Regions from separate parts of the Homo sapiens genome. Here all the other regions are linked to region 1. Evidence: promoter capture Hi-C in 16 types of primary human blood cells and fetal thymus (Javierre and others, 2016). All regions are on one chromosome and are shown on one strand. Each heading gives the region's core, a stretch centred on a gene start or on the middle of the fragment in contact. The rest is flanking DNA. Distances are from core to core; before and after follow the strand shown.

Evidence for each region. Contacts are between HindIII fragments. The CHiCAGO score rates a contact against its expected background, and 5 or more counts as called.
Region 2: a contact is called between a fragment that was not itself captured here and the fragment with the promoter of ZNF101 in region 1, in 4 of 17 cell types (M2 macrophages, total CD4 T cells, total B cells and 1 more). The highest score is 6.4, in M2 macrophages.
Region 3: a contact is called between a fragment that was not itself captured here and the fragment with the promoter of ZNF101 in region 1, in 1 of 17 cell types (non-activated CD4 T cells). The highest score is 5.9, in non-activated CD4 T cells.

Annotation. Positions count from the first base shown.
Region 1 is chr19:19,666,621-19,670,619 of GRCh38, reverse strand. ZNF101 (zinc finger protein 101) reads right to left here and starts at 1,781. Exons shown (of 4, transcript NM_033204.4): 1 at 1,654-1,781. The coding sequence starts at 1,656. RefSeq lists enhancers at 960-1,525, 1,526-2,092 and a silencer at 1,372-1,571. The HindIII fragment of the contact is 10,038 bases long and covers 1-3,506 here.
Region 2 is chr19:19,960,541-19,964,539 of GRCh38, reverse strand. It overlaps the pseudogene BNIP3P12. Among named protein-coding and RNA genes, the nearest start is that of ZNF93, 62 kb to the right of the region's middle. The HindIII fragment of the contact is 4,095 bases long and covers 1-3,770 here.
Region 3 is chr19:19,937,254-19,941,252 of GRCh38, reverse strand. LOC124904665 (a long non-coding RNA gene) reads left to right here. Exons shown (of 3, transcript XR_007067170.1): 1 at 1-1,518; 2 at 1,591-1,687; 3 at 2,570-2,735. Among named protein-coding and RNA genes, the nearest start is that of ZNF93, 38 kb to the right of the region's middle. The HindIII fragment of the contact is 1,208 bases long and covers 1,457-2,664 here.

The sequences.
Region 1 (3,999 bases), core at 532-3,031:
ATACCCGGCTAATTTTTGTATTTGTTGTAGAAATGGGGTCTCGCCACTTTGCCCAGGATGGTCTCAAACTTCTGGGCTCAAGAGATCTTCCCGCCCCAGCCTCCCAAAGTGCTGGAATTACAGGCGTGAGCCACCTGGGCAGGAGAATCGCTTTTGACTTCCAGAGCAGACTGGGCAACATAGTGAGACCTTGTCTCTACAAAAAATAAAAACTAGCCGGGCGTGGCGCATGCCTGTGGTCCCAGCTTCTTGGAAGACTGAGGCAGGAGGATTGCTTGGGCCCCAGAGGTTGAGGCCGTAGTAAGCCATGACTGTGCCACTGCATGCCACCCTGAGCTGCCTCAGAAGGGAGAAGTTTCTTTCTACTGTTTCTGGCCCCACCCCACCCCCAAGGGCCAGCAGGGAATCCCTCTGGAATTTCCTAAGGAAACTTCTTTTCAAAAGACAAGAACTCCTCCCTAGGAGGCTCATCAAACAACCAGGAAAGATTAACCACGCCAGGACAGACTTTTCACCCGTTCTTCCGAGGGCAGCTGGAAGAAGTCCCTGGACGGTCCTGAAACCCAGGACCAGAAAGATAGGAGGGTGGGCTGAGGACCCAATACCCTGTGAAGTTCCCAAGAGAAGCCTCCACCCAAAGACTGTCTGATAAGGTGGCCGCGCCTAGGGAAGGTAAAAAGAGGGCAGGCACAGTGATTTTTTTTTTTTAACATCGGAGTGTCAGGGGGTTATTTTCTGCTTTGCTCGCATGTGAAATGTTCACAAACGGAAAATGAACTTTTTAAGAAGTGCCATCTAGGGCTCCTTGGAAAAGATGACAGTTAAAACACTGGGTCTTGCCAGGCGCAGTGGCTCAAGCCTGTAATCCCAGCACTTTGGGAGACCGAGGCAGGCAGATACCTGAGATCAGGACTTCAGCACGGCCAACATGGTGAACCTGTCTCTACTGAAAATACAAGTTAGCCGGACGTGGTGGCGGGCACCTGTAATTCCAGCTACTCAGGAGGCTGAGGCAGGAGAATCACTTGAACCCGGAAGACGGAGGCTGCAGTGAGCCCAGACAGTGCCACTGCACTCCAGCCTGGGCGACAGAGTGAGACTCCGTCTCAAAAATAATAGAAATAATGATAATAATAATAATGTGAAGTGGATGTACTGGAGGGAGAACTTAGGGTTGGGGAATGCGGGGAAATTTAGGGATTTACTGCAGCCCTGGGAGGAGCGAAGCTGGGGGACGGGGTCGTGGGTTTGAAACCCAGCTTCCCACACCTTTGGAAGACTCCGAAGGAAACGGGGACCGCCTAAGGGAGGAGGAACTGGGGACCCCACAGGCCACGGCTCCTCCCGCACGAACCCCACACCCGAGGCGGGATTCCCCCTAAGACCCTCCTGAGGCCCCCGCACGATCTGGGGAGACGCGGGGCTGCGGGCGCGGAGCTGCCCTGAGAGGGCTCCGGGGCCGGGACAGGACACCCGGGGTCCCGGCGGCTGGTCCAGCTCCACCCGGCGACCGAGGGGACCAAGGGTCGAGCTGCGCCTGGGGGACTCGGGTCCCAGACCCCCACAGTCGCCGCGGGGAGGCCCAGGTCCAGCCACTGCCGGTTCCGACCAGCTCCTCCTCAGGTCTCCGGACGCCCGGCTCCGCACGCTCACCATTTCCGGCTTCCGGGTGTCCTGGGTCCTTCCTGGGGCTGGAGCAGCCAGAACAGGTCCCACACGACAAAATCAGCCGTATCCGGGGCACCAGGGGCTCCCCGAGGAACTAAAACCCGGACCCGAATGGGGGGCCGGCGGGAAATGAGACCGCTTCGGGCTTTGGAAGTTGCCCCTCCTCCCGGCGCACCTGATTGGACAGTTTGCCGCACAGCGCCTCTGACTGGCTGGTGCCCCAGGTCCCGCCCCTGGGGCTTGAGCGACAGGAGAGGTGATCGGAATCCTCAAATAATCCGCTCGCTGTGTGGGGTGTGACTGACAGGTGCTACCCACAGCCCCTCGCTGGGACCTTGGACCTGGACTTGCATGGAAGCAGAACTTGCTCCCGTTAGGGTCAACCCAACCAGACTGTTCCCCTCCTTCCCCCATCAGTCTTACAATACAGTCCTTTGTGACCGCCACACAACTCCCCCCGGGCTAGAAGTAGACCTCCTCCCCACTGACCCTTCCAGTAACTGTTTGTTCAAAAGACTTCAGCTGAACCGGCAGACAGTTCCAGGATGCGGTCACAACACCTGCCCACCTTGCATAACAAAGCTGGCAAAAACATCTCCAGGATGCGGTCAGGACACCTGCACCCCCGACTCAGTTCTCACACCCCAGCCCAGTTCCTCGCCCTATAAAGCCCTGCTGTAGTCTGTAAGCGGGGCTGCCTCCTCTAACTGTGGGGGAGCAGCCCAGCAGGTTAATAAAACTTACTTGACTGACTTCAGGTCTCTTCGTCCTTTCGGCTGACCTTACAGCTCCTGGTTTTCCGGAGCAGGCCCTGTCGGCTTCCTGTACTCAGTGGGTCCTTCCTGCTGCTTTTTTTTTTTTTTTTTGAGACGGAGTTTCGCTCTTGTTGCCCAGGCTGGAATGCAATGGCACGATCTCAGCTAACTGCAACCTCCGCTTTCCGGTTTCAAGCGATTCTCCTGCCTCAGCCTCCCGGGTAGCTGCGATTACAGGCGCCCACCACCACTCCCGGCTAATTTTTGTATTTTTAGTAGAAATGGGGTTTCACCATGTTGGCCAGGCTGGTCTCGAACTCCTGATCTCGTGATCCGCCGGCCTCGGCCTCTCAAAGTGCTGGGATTACAGGCGTGAGCCACCGCGCCCAGCCGCCTCCTGCTTCTTTTTCCGGAACACCGGTCACATGAGTGTGCACGGAATTCCAGACTCCGTGTTCAGTGAAGCCATCCCTCCACCTTGGAGCTGGAGAGACTCCCAGGTCACAATGGAACAGGTAGGAGGCCCTGATGTCCTCCAGAGATCAGGAATTTATGAGGCTATTGGTCCCATGGCCAAGGCTTCCTACACGTTACTTCTTCTCAGGCTACTCCTTTTCAGCCAAGAAAATAAAAACATGCCTTAAAGGGAACAAAATTATTAAATGCAGGGAAAAACTGGAGTAAACCACTTTTTTTTTCTTTTTTTTTGAGACGGAGTCTGGCTCTGTCGCCCAGGCTGGAGTGCAGTGGCACGATCTCAGCTCATTGCAACCTCTGCCTCCCAGGTTCAAGAGATTCTCTTGCCTCAGCCTCCCGAGTCCGAGTAGCTGGAACTACAGGCATGTGCCACCATGCCCGGCCAATTTTTTTTTTTTTTTTTTTTTTTTGTATTTTTAGTAGAGACGGGGTTTCACCGTGTTAGCCAGGATGGTCTCGATCTCCTGAACTCGTGATCTGCCCGCCTTGGCCTCCCAAAGTGCTGGGATTACAGGCATGAGCCACCGTGCCCGGCCTGGAGTAAACATTCTATAAAGGTATTGCTACCAGAAAGGGGTCCAGTCCCAGACTCCAAGAGCAGAAGCTTGGACCTTGTATGGGAAAGAATTAATATTGGAGAAAAAACTGAAAAAGTAAGTATATCGAACTGTATCATGGGACAGAAACATGTCATTCCTATTTTTACTGAAGATTATCTTATTTGATACTATGTGATTATTAAGTCCTATTACATTTCCTTTCTCCTTTTACGAAGTCATGTATCTTAATAATATGCAGCCGGGCACGGTGGCTCAGCCTGTAATCCCAGCACTCTGGGAGGCCCAGGCAGGCGGATCATGAGGTCAGGAGTAGGAGACCAGCCTGCCCAACATGGTGAAACACCGTCTCTACTAAAATTACAAAAATTAGCCAGGTGTGGTGGCGCATGCCTGTAATCCTAGCTACTAAGAAGGCTGAGGCAGGAGAACTGCTTGAACCCAGGAGGAGGAGGTTGCAGTGAGCCGAGATCACAGCATTGCGCCTGGGCGACAGAGCATGACTCCATCTCAAAAAAAAAAAAAAAAAAAAAAAAAAAAAA
Region 2 (3,999 bases), core at 474-2,973, 290 kb before region 1:
ATGAGGCTCAGTCACAAGGGCCCTTTGTGACTGGGCTCAAGGAACACAAAAAGGCCAACTTGTTTTTGGGATTGCCTATTGTTTTTCAATTTCTAACGTATAGGAATAGATTGAAATAAAGATTTTTTTCTGAAACAGCACTGGATGAACGCCTCAAGGGGCTCACACAACCTCTGCCAGGACTTGGTGACCATTATTTGTGTCCACATTCAATTTAGTTCAAATTTAATATTTAACTTTCCCTCCACATTTGGCCTCAATTGGATACTCAATTGTAGGAAAATACCCTCTCAGATACATGGAAAAGGCATAATTGATATAGATTACAGATACAGGGTAACACAGGAGAATTAAAAGCACAATTAATAAAAACCACACTCAGCATGGCTTTCCAAGGAGAGTCATATTGTGAGAATTACCAGAGATATACACACAACATTCAGTTTGCAGTAACGTGCAAACCCCTCCTTGGGCTGCGGTAAGCATTTTTAATGCCATTTGATTTTGCAACACAATAGTACGCAGCTGAGCAAATTCATCTGATAACAACACAAGTTCAGTGCTACTATCATTAAGAGCTTTTTCTACATGTAAGGTAAATATTTTAATGTGTTGGTGAAGGAGGAATGTACTGGTGGCAGGGGAGAATACTGTGATAGGGTACCACCACCAGGGAGACCAGCACATTTGTAACCAGTGGTGTTTGTAAGCATCTAGATTACTGGGGAAGGGAATATTATCCCGGATAGTGAATGGAATTAATGTCCACCCTCAAGTGCATCTTCCCATCCAATGCAGGGACAGTATTGCAACCCATAGGATCTGCATACCCAGAGGGCCCCCCAGGGGACAGCAATGGAGCTACTGTAATCATAGTGTACTAATGTGTTATTAAAATAGGAAAGAGATTGTGGTTCATTGGGGGGCAGTGTTGTTGATTTGGAGTATGTGTTGACAAATGTCTGAAGAAACCCCAAAGAAACATTAGAGGAGCCATTTAAGGCCTCCAGAAAAAGCGAAGCCTGTATGGAATCCAGCCACCAGCACAGCAGGTTTTCAGTGTATATTGTTCCAGGATTATTGGGCAAGATATCAAGACTTTTGATGCAAGGTGAGGGTGGAGTTCATCTTTTGTCTGACCTGGCAAAGATAGATTGCTTAGTGTGGTGAAAGGAAGCCCAGGTTGGATTGCAAGTGTTGTTGTTGTTGTGGCCCTACTGGTAACAATATAGCCATTCAGAAATGTTGTCAGGGACGATTCTTCAAGATAGCCCATCCCAGGCAGCCTCCGGCAACTCAACATATAGCCAACATTGACTGTGGATGGCTTCAGTTGCAGCGGTGGCTACCCAGGTGATGAATTTATTCTTGGCTTCAGACACAAAGACACAGGTGCTGACCATTAGTAGATAGGTTATTCCCTGTAATAACAAAAATGGAGTGGAACATGATTTATTTTTCATCTTTAGGAAATTGTACTATGCCTTCATTTCCCGCTTTCATAGCTACAAGGTCACCAGCCTTAGGGTCAAGATGTGATGGACGCTGTATGCATATTTTGGCTCCAGGATTTAAGCTACCTGTACCAGGGGATCTGAATCCCCCAGTTCTGTATGTAGACTCTGTTGGGGCAGAGATTTCCTCAGGAGTTAATTGTTGACAAGGGTACCACTAAAAATTGAGTAACCAGCATCTAGTTTTATAGCAAAAGAATCTGGAGTGTTATTGTATAAAATGACCTTTAACTCTCCCTGGTAATCACTATCAATTACACCACCATACACTATAATGCCTCTCTTTGCAAGGCTTGAACACATTGTAATCTATTCATCCACATTCAAGTTTACTGTTATGGTGGAAATTGTGGCCTGTTTTTCTTCCTGCTGATTAAATAGCCTGTCAAGAGAAAGCAGAGATGCATGGGCATCAACATGGAAAACAGGGCTGCACATGGTGGTGAAGGGGGCCTGCCCCTCCACACCTGTGGGTGTTTCTCACAAGGTGGAGATGAGAGACTGAGAAAAGAAATAAGACACAGAGACAAAGTATAGAGGAAGAAAGGTGGACCCAGGGGACCGGCGCTCAGCATACGGAGGACCCGCACCCGGCACTGGTCTCTAAGTTCCCTCAGTATTTATTGATCACTATCTCTTTCATCTCAGTGAGGGGGATGTGGTACGACTACAGGGTAATGGTGGGGAGAGGGTCAGCAGGAAAACATGTGAGCAAAGGACTTTGTGTCATAAATAAGTTTAAGGAAAGGTGCTGTGCCTTGATGTGCACGTAGGACAGATTTATGTTTGACTTTACACAAACATCTCAGTGTCGTAAAGAGCAGTATTGTCGCCAGCATGTCTCACCTCCAGCCATAAGGTGATTTTCTCCTATCTCAGTAAATAGAATGTATGATCAGGTTTTACACCGAGACATTCCATTCCCAGCGATGAGCAGGAGACAGATACCTTCCTCTTATCTCAACTGCAAAGAGGCCTTCCTCTTTCACTAATCCTCCTCAGCACAGACCCTTTATGGGTGTCGGGCTGGGGGATGGTCAGGTCTTTCCCTTCCCATGAGGCCATATCTCAGGCTGTCTCAGTGGGGGGAAACCTTGGACGATACCCAGGCTTTCTTGGGCATGAGGTCCCTGCGGCTTTCCGCAGTGCATTGTGTCCCTGGGTACGGGAGACTGGAGAATGGCGATGACTTTTACCAAGCATACTGTCTGCAAAGACATTTTTAACAAAGCACATCCTGTACAGCCCTAAATACATTAAATCTTGAGTCAATACAGCACATGTTTCTGCGGGCACAGGGTTGGGGCTGGGGTTACAGATTAACAGTATCTTAAGACAGAAGAATTTTTCTTAGTACAGATCAAAATGGAGTTTCTTATGTCTTCCTTTTTCTACATAGACACAGTAACAGTCTGATCTCTCTTTCTTTCCCCCACATGGTGGCTGACGCCTGTAATCCCAGCACTTTGGGAGGCTGAGGTGGGCGGATCACGAGATCAGGAGATCGAGACCATCCTGGCCAACATGGTGAAACCTTGTTGAAACAGTGATAACAGTGAAACAGTGATAATGGCAGTGTGCAATGGATTGAGATATCTTCCAAGTATTGTTGTCCCCAAACCTCTTTATTCTGAATTAACCATTTGTTTCATTGTCATTGGGGCTTCCAGGTAGAAAGACCATTTGGTACTGACCAAGATTTGGTATACAAGTGAGAAATCCCTCTGCCTTCCTCCTGAATAGCTTGAAGGATGGCTACTAGTTCAGCTAACTCGCTGCTCCCACCCCTTCCTTCATCAGAAATTTTTATGTTTTTAACAGGATTATAAGCCACAGCCTTCCAGCATCAGGTCCCACCAATGTATTTGGCGGATCCGTCTGTAAATCAAGCATGTTTCTGATCCTCTGGGCTTAGTTCTTCAAAGGATTTGCCCCACTGGGTGGGAGTGAGGGGATTTCCTTCCCTACCTGCAGGACTTGCTCCATGATTTCCTGAGCTGGCAGGTTTTGTGCATCCTCATGTAAAAGTGATACCCACTTTGGTTTTGGCTTAGCCTGGTCTTGTATGTACCACGTCCATTTTATGATGCTCCTTCTTGGGCATGCCCTATCTGGTGGGTTTTGGGGGAACTCATGAGCCAAGTCATAATAGGAGTTTCGGGCCTCATAAAGACATCATGGTTGAAGCAGAGGTGTTCTGTTTCCAGCAAAGCCCAATAAGAAGCTAACAATTGCTTCTTGAAAGGGGTATAAGCTTTTCCGGCCTCTGGCAGTTTCTGGGTCCAAAACCTGAAAGGTACCCTCTTCCCACCTTGTTTCTGCCTAAGGCTCCAATTAGCATTTTGATCTAGGACAGTTACTTGCAGTTCTCCTGGCCCATCCTGTATGGGCCATAGATCCAGGGCCAGTTGACCCACTCATTTAGCTTGTTCAGAAGCCATGTTCTCCTTCTTTCCCCAGTGAAAGTCATAGCGTTTTCTAGTGG
Region 3 (3,999 bases), core at 811-3,310, 270 kb before region 1:
CACTTGTTAAGTGTACGATATTTATTTTCCAATAAAATTACCCTAGAAAACCTTAAGGGGTTTGTTTAAATTGCATATTAGTATATAGTATAAAGTTGACAGGGCAGTGGCTAGAAAATATTTAAATTACAGAAACTGTTGGATTTAAGTTTCTTTTAGGACATTTAGAAGAAACAAATCTGGTAGTACCCCAGTGACATAGAGAACAGAATTCTACATAGGGTCCTCACACTGCCCCAGACTTGTTTACATATATTCTTTTTGAAGGCCTTATTTAGGTCTGACCATACCCTGGAGTCTTGCTCTCAGAACTGATTAGTAGAGATCAAGAGTTTTGGCTGGTGAATCCTGCTGCCTTTCTAGAGCTGGTGCTCACAATTTCCTGAAACCCAAAAGCAGATGAATGGGAAAAATAAAGTATGTATTATAGAGTCTTAGCTTTTAAGTTTTCTATTAAAACCAGTGCTTGCAGAGACATTCTATTTAGCAACTTGTTTTCTATTCCTGCAGATCCAGTAATTGCTCCCCAAGTAACAAAAAAGTAAACATAAACAGAATAAAATTTTCTCTAAACTGCATTAAACTCATCCTTTCTATATCTTTTCTATCTGTCTATATTTAGCTTTTATTTCTTACAACTTTTTAAAAAATTTGATGACAGAGAAACAGAAGAATAAAAATGCTGGGCCCTTTATCTAAATCCTGAAAATTCCTAAACCCTTAGTACTAGCTCCCAGGGTATTATGAGAATTAAATCACATAATGTGTTATGCCCAGCACAGTGCTCTGTATCATACTCTTGAGCACATAGTACTTGCTTAATAAACATTGCAGTAGTACATGTGTACATGTTGTTTTTTAAACCCAGACTTATTCAAACATTGCTGCCTTCTGTTTCCTCTATAAACTTAAAGAGCCAGCAAAGAATATAAAACTTTAGGATGGAGATGGGTTGTCCTTATTTGCACGACAAGTATTTGGTTGTGAGAAGGGTGTTAAGTGTAAGGGACCCTGTGCTCTGCCTGCTTTCTCTAATGCTAATAATGAGCCAAGGGGGAGCAACATCAGCATTGACAGGAGACTTGTTTAAAACACTCTTTCATAAACCCTTTTCAAACCTGCAGAATCACCTTACATAATGTGGGACCAAAATTACCAAGTGATTTATACTTGTGCCCTCCCCACAGCTTCTGTTTATTGTTCTGGGTGGAAGGATCCATGTTGTTTTAATGAAGGGCCTCATGTGACTCTAAGGTGAGGCCAGAATCAAGTATGAAGGCTTCAAAATACATTTTCGAGAGTTAAGTTCCACCTTTGCACTAAAGGGTGGTCACAGGGCCTGTTCTGTTTGGGTTTGGTAGGGACAGGTCAGTGTGGTGCATATTTCCATTACTGTAGCAGAAATTGCTGGAGTCTCTGGCAGGGGAGGGCACCTGAGGACAGGAAAGGAGAAGCTTATATTTTTGTCTTCATGGAGCAGCTCATTATTCCTGAATCTATTCTGTTTAAAAGACAGCAGTAAGTGAATTTTTCTTTTTCTGCCAGTTGATGTCATACTAGCAGGTAAATGTGGTACTGACACCTTTAAAGGCATATTCTCCATATGCAGGTGTAACTTGTCCAGAGAATCTCATCTGAGAAGGAATTCCAGAGGAGGAGGAGAAAGAAAAAAATGGCTTTTCTTCAGGTAAACATGTGTCAGATGAAGAGCTGTGTCCACTCTGCCTCCTGGACTGCCATGCGTTTAGTACTCACAAACCTTTACTTCTCTACTTGTGTTTTTCCTCCCTAAGGAGTTTGGTTTAACTACTTCTTAAAATTCTTATGATAGTCAAGGGTCTCTGGAAAACGTTTCTGTCCTATGTCCCACAGACTTCTCTACATTCTGTACGTCATAGCTTCTTATATGCCATGCAGAATGCTCCGCAAGAATTTATGACCTGCAATATTAAAAATGTTCCCTTTGTGGCTGTTGAACATGGAAAGATGTGGATACTCAAGGTTTCTATTGGGGAAAACTGTGGCCCTTAGTAAAGATGGAGAACATGTAATGTTGAGGCTCCAGCTGTGTGTTCCATTAGCTCTATGCAGAAGAGGATTAAGAAAATGCTGATTTAAATGGAATGGCATTTATTACCCAGAAAGTTCTGAAAAAAATTATTAGGAGATACTTGCTCTCTAGGGTGCTAAATGAAGCCTAATTAAAATTCCTACTAAAAATTACAGAACATAGGAGTTACCTGTATTTTGAAGTTTGCATAAACTGTTGTTTATGGTTAAATTCAGACTAGTTTACTGTTTTGGGGAGGAATATTTCAACAGTGATGCTGTGTTCTTCTGTGTGCAGTAGCACATCATAAAAATTTGTCCTAGTGCAGTTAATGGTTAATGATTCACTTGGTGAAATAGCTGATTGATTTTTTTCACTGTAGAGATAACTATTTTTCTCTTCATAATTATCTTTATGCAGCTGCTCTACACAAGTGATCACATTTAATCTGGCAGTTCTCCTTTTATTTTTTCTACATATTTTTCTTTAGAAAATGAAGGCTCTTATCTTTGTTTACAGGCTAGAAAAACTGGGAAAACACAGGCTCTACCACTTACTGGATCTTTGACAAAATATCCTTATTAGGCCAAAAACGTTAGCATTACTGGTAAGCTTGTTAGAAATTCAAAAAATCAGCGGGGAGCCCTGGCTCATGCCTGTAATCACAGCATTTTGGGAGGCCAAGGCAGGCAGATCACCTGAGGTTGGGAGTTTGAGACCAGCCTGACCAACATGGAGAATACCCTGTCTCTACTAAAAATACAAAAATAGCTGGGCGTGGAGGCACATGCCTGTAATCTCAACTACTCAGGAGGCTGAGGCAGGAGAATTGCTTGAACCCAGGAGGGGGACACTGCCGTGAGCCAAGATGATGCCACTGCACAGAAGCCTGGGCAACAAGCATGAAACTCCGTCTCAAATAAAAAAGAAAAGGAAATAAATACGTAAATCAGACTTACTCCAGATCTTCTTGGAAAAAAAAAAAAACCTGCATAAGGTCTTCAGCTTATTGTACATAATAAATTTGAGAAATGCCTAAGTGAATGTCTTTTCCATCTGAAAAATATTCACAACTCATTCCGTATGATGTAAATATAGCACTCAAAAATGTACATGTTCGTGTTCATGCCCTTAATTTTATACTTTATTATCTAGAAAAATAAAATATATGAACTGTTGTTCTGGATCTTATGGTGCTTTTTTTTTTTTATCATAGTTAGAGAATAATATTTCTGTTTTGAAAATTATTTTATTGGATAATTTTAGTCAGTGCTATAAGTCAGAACCACTTCTCTTTACTCTCTCATTTCACCTTAAGTCAAATTAAAAATTCCACACCTGGCCACTTGGTAAAAATGTGTGTGTTCTTCAGGGACCATTGCAATTTAGAGATGTGGCCATAGAATTATCTCTGGAGGAGTGGCATTGCCTGGACACTGTACAGCGGAAGTTGTATACGAATGTGATGTTAGAGAACTATGGAAATATGGTCTTTCTTGTTGAGGATAACTTTAAGACATAATTCATAATATACCCTAAAGGTTTTATTTCTCTTTTATGTAGAACTTTTTAGTAATCTATTCTTTGCATAAAAGAGTTTCAGATCCCCTTTTTTCAGAAAATCTTCAAAATTTGCTCATGCAGAAAAGTCTCTTCAAGATGTTTCATCTTAATCCAAACTTTCCACATTCCTGATTTGAGCTGTATAATTCACTCTAAATTAGTGGTAATTCCAAAAATTTAGTGACAAAGTATTCTTGCCCCCACCTGAAAATCTAATTGCCACCAATTTTTGATTCAGTAGTATTAGATAGTAAAATTAAGAAACCTACAAATTGAAAGCATTTTCTAAATATTTAGAAATTTGTTATAGATTAGTATTTTGTAATTAATTTACTAGAATATTTTATCACATCCTCTCTACTGAACACATTACTAGCTTGTAATTG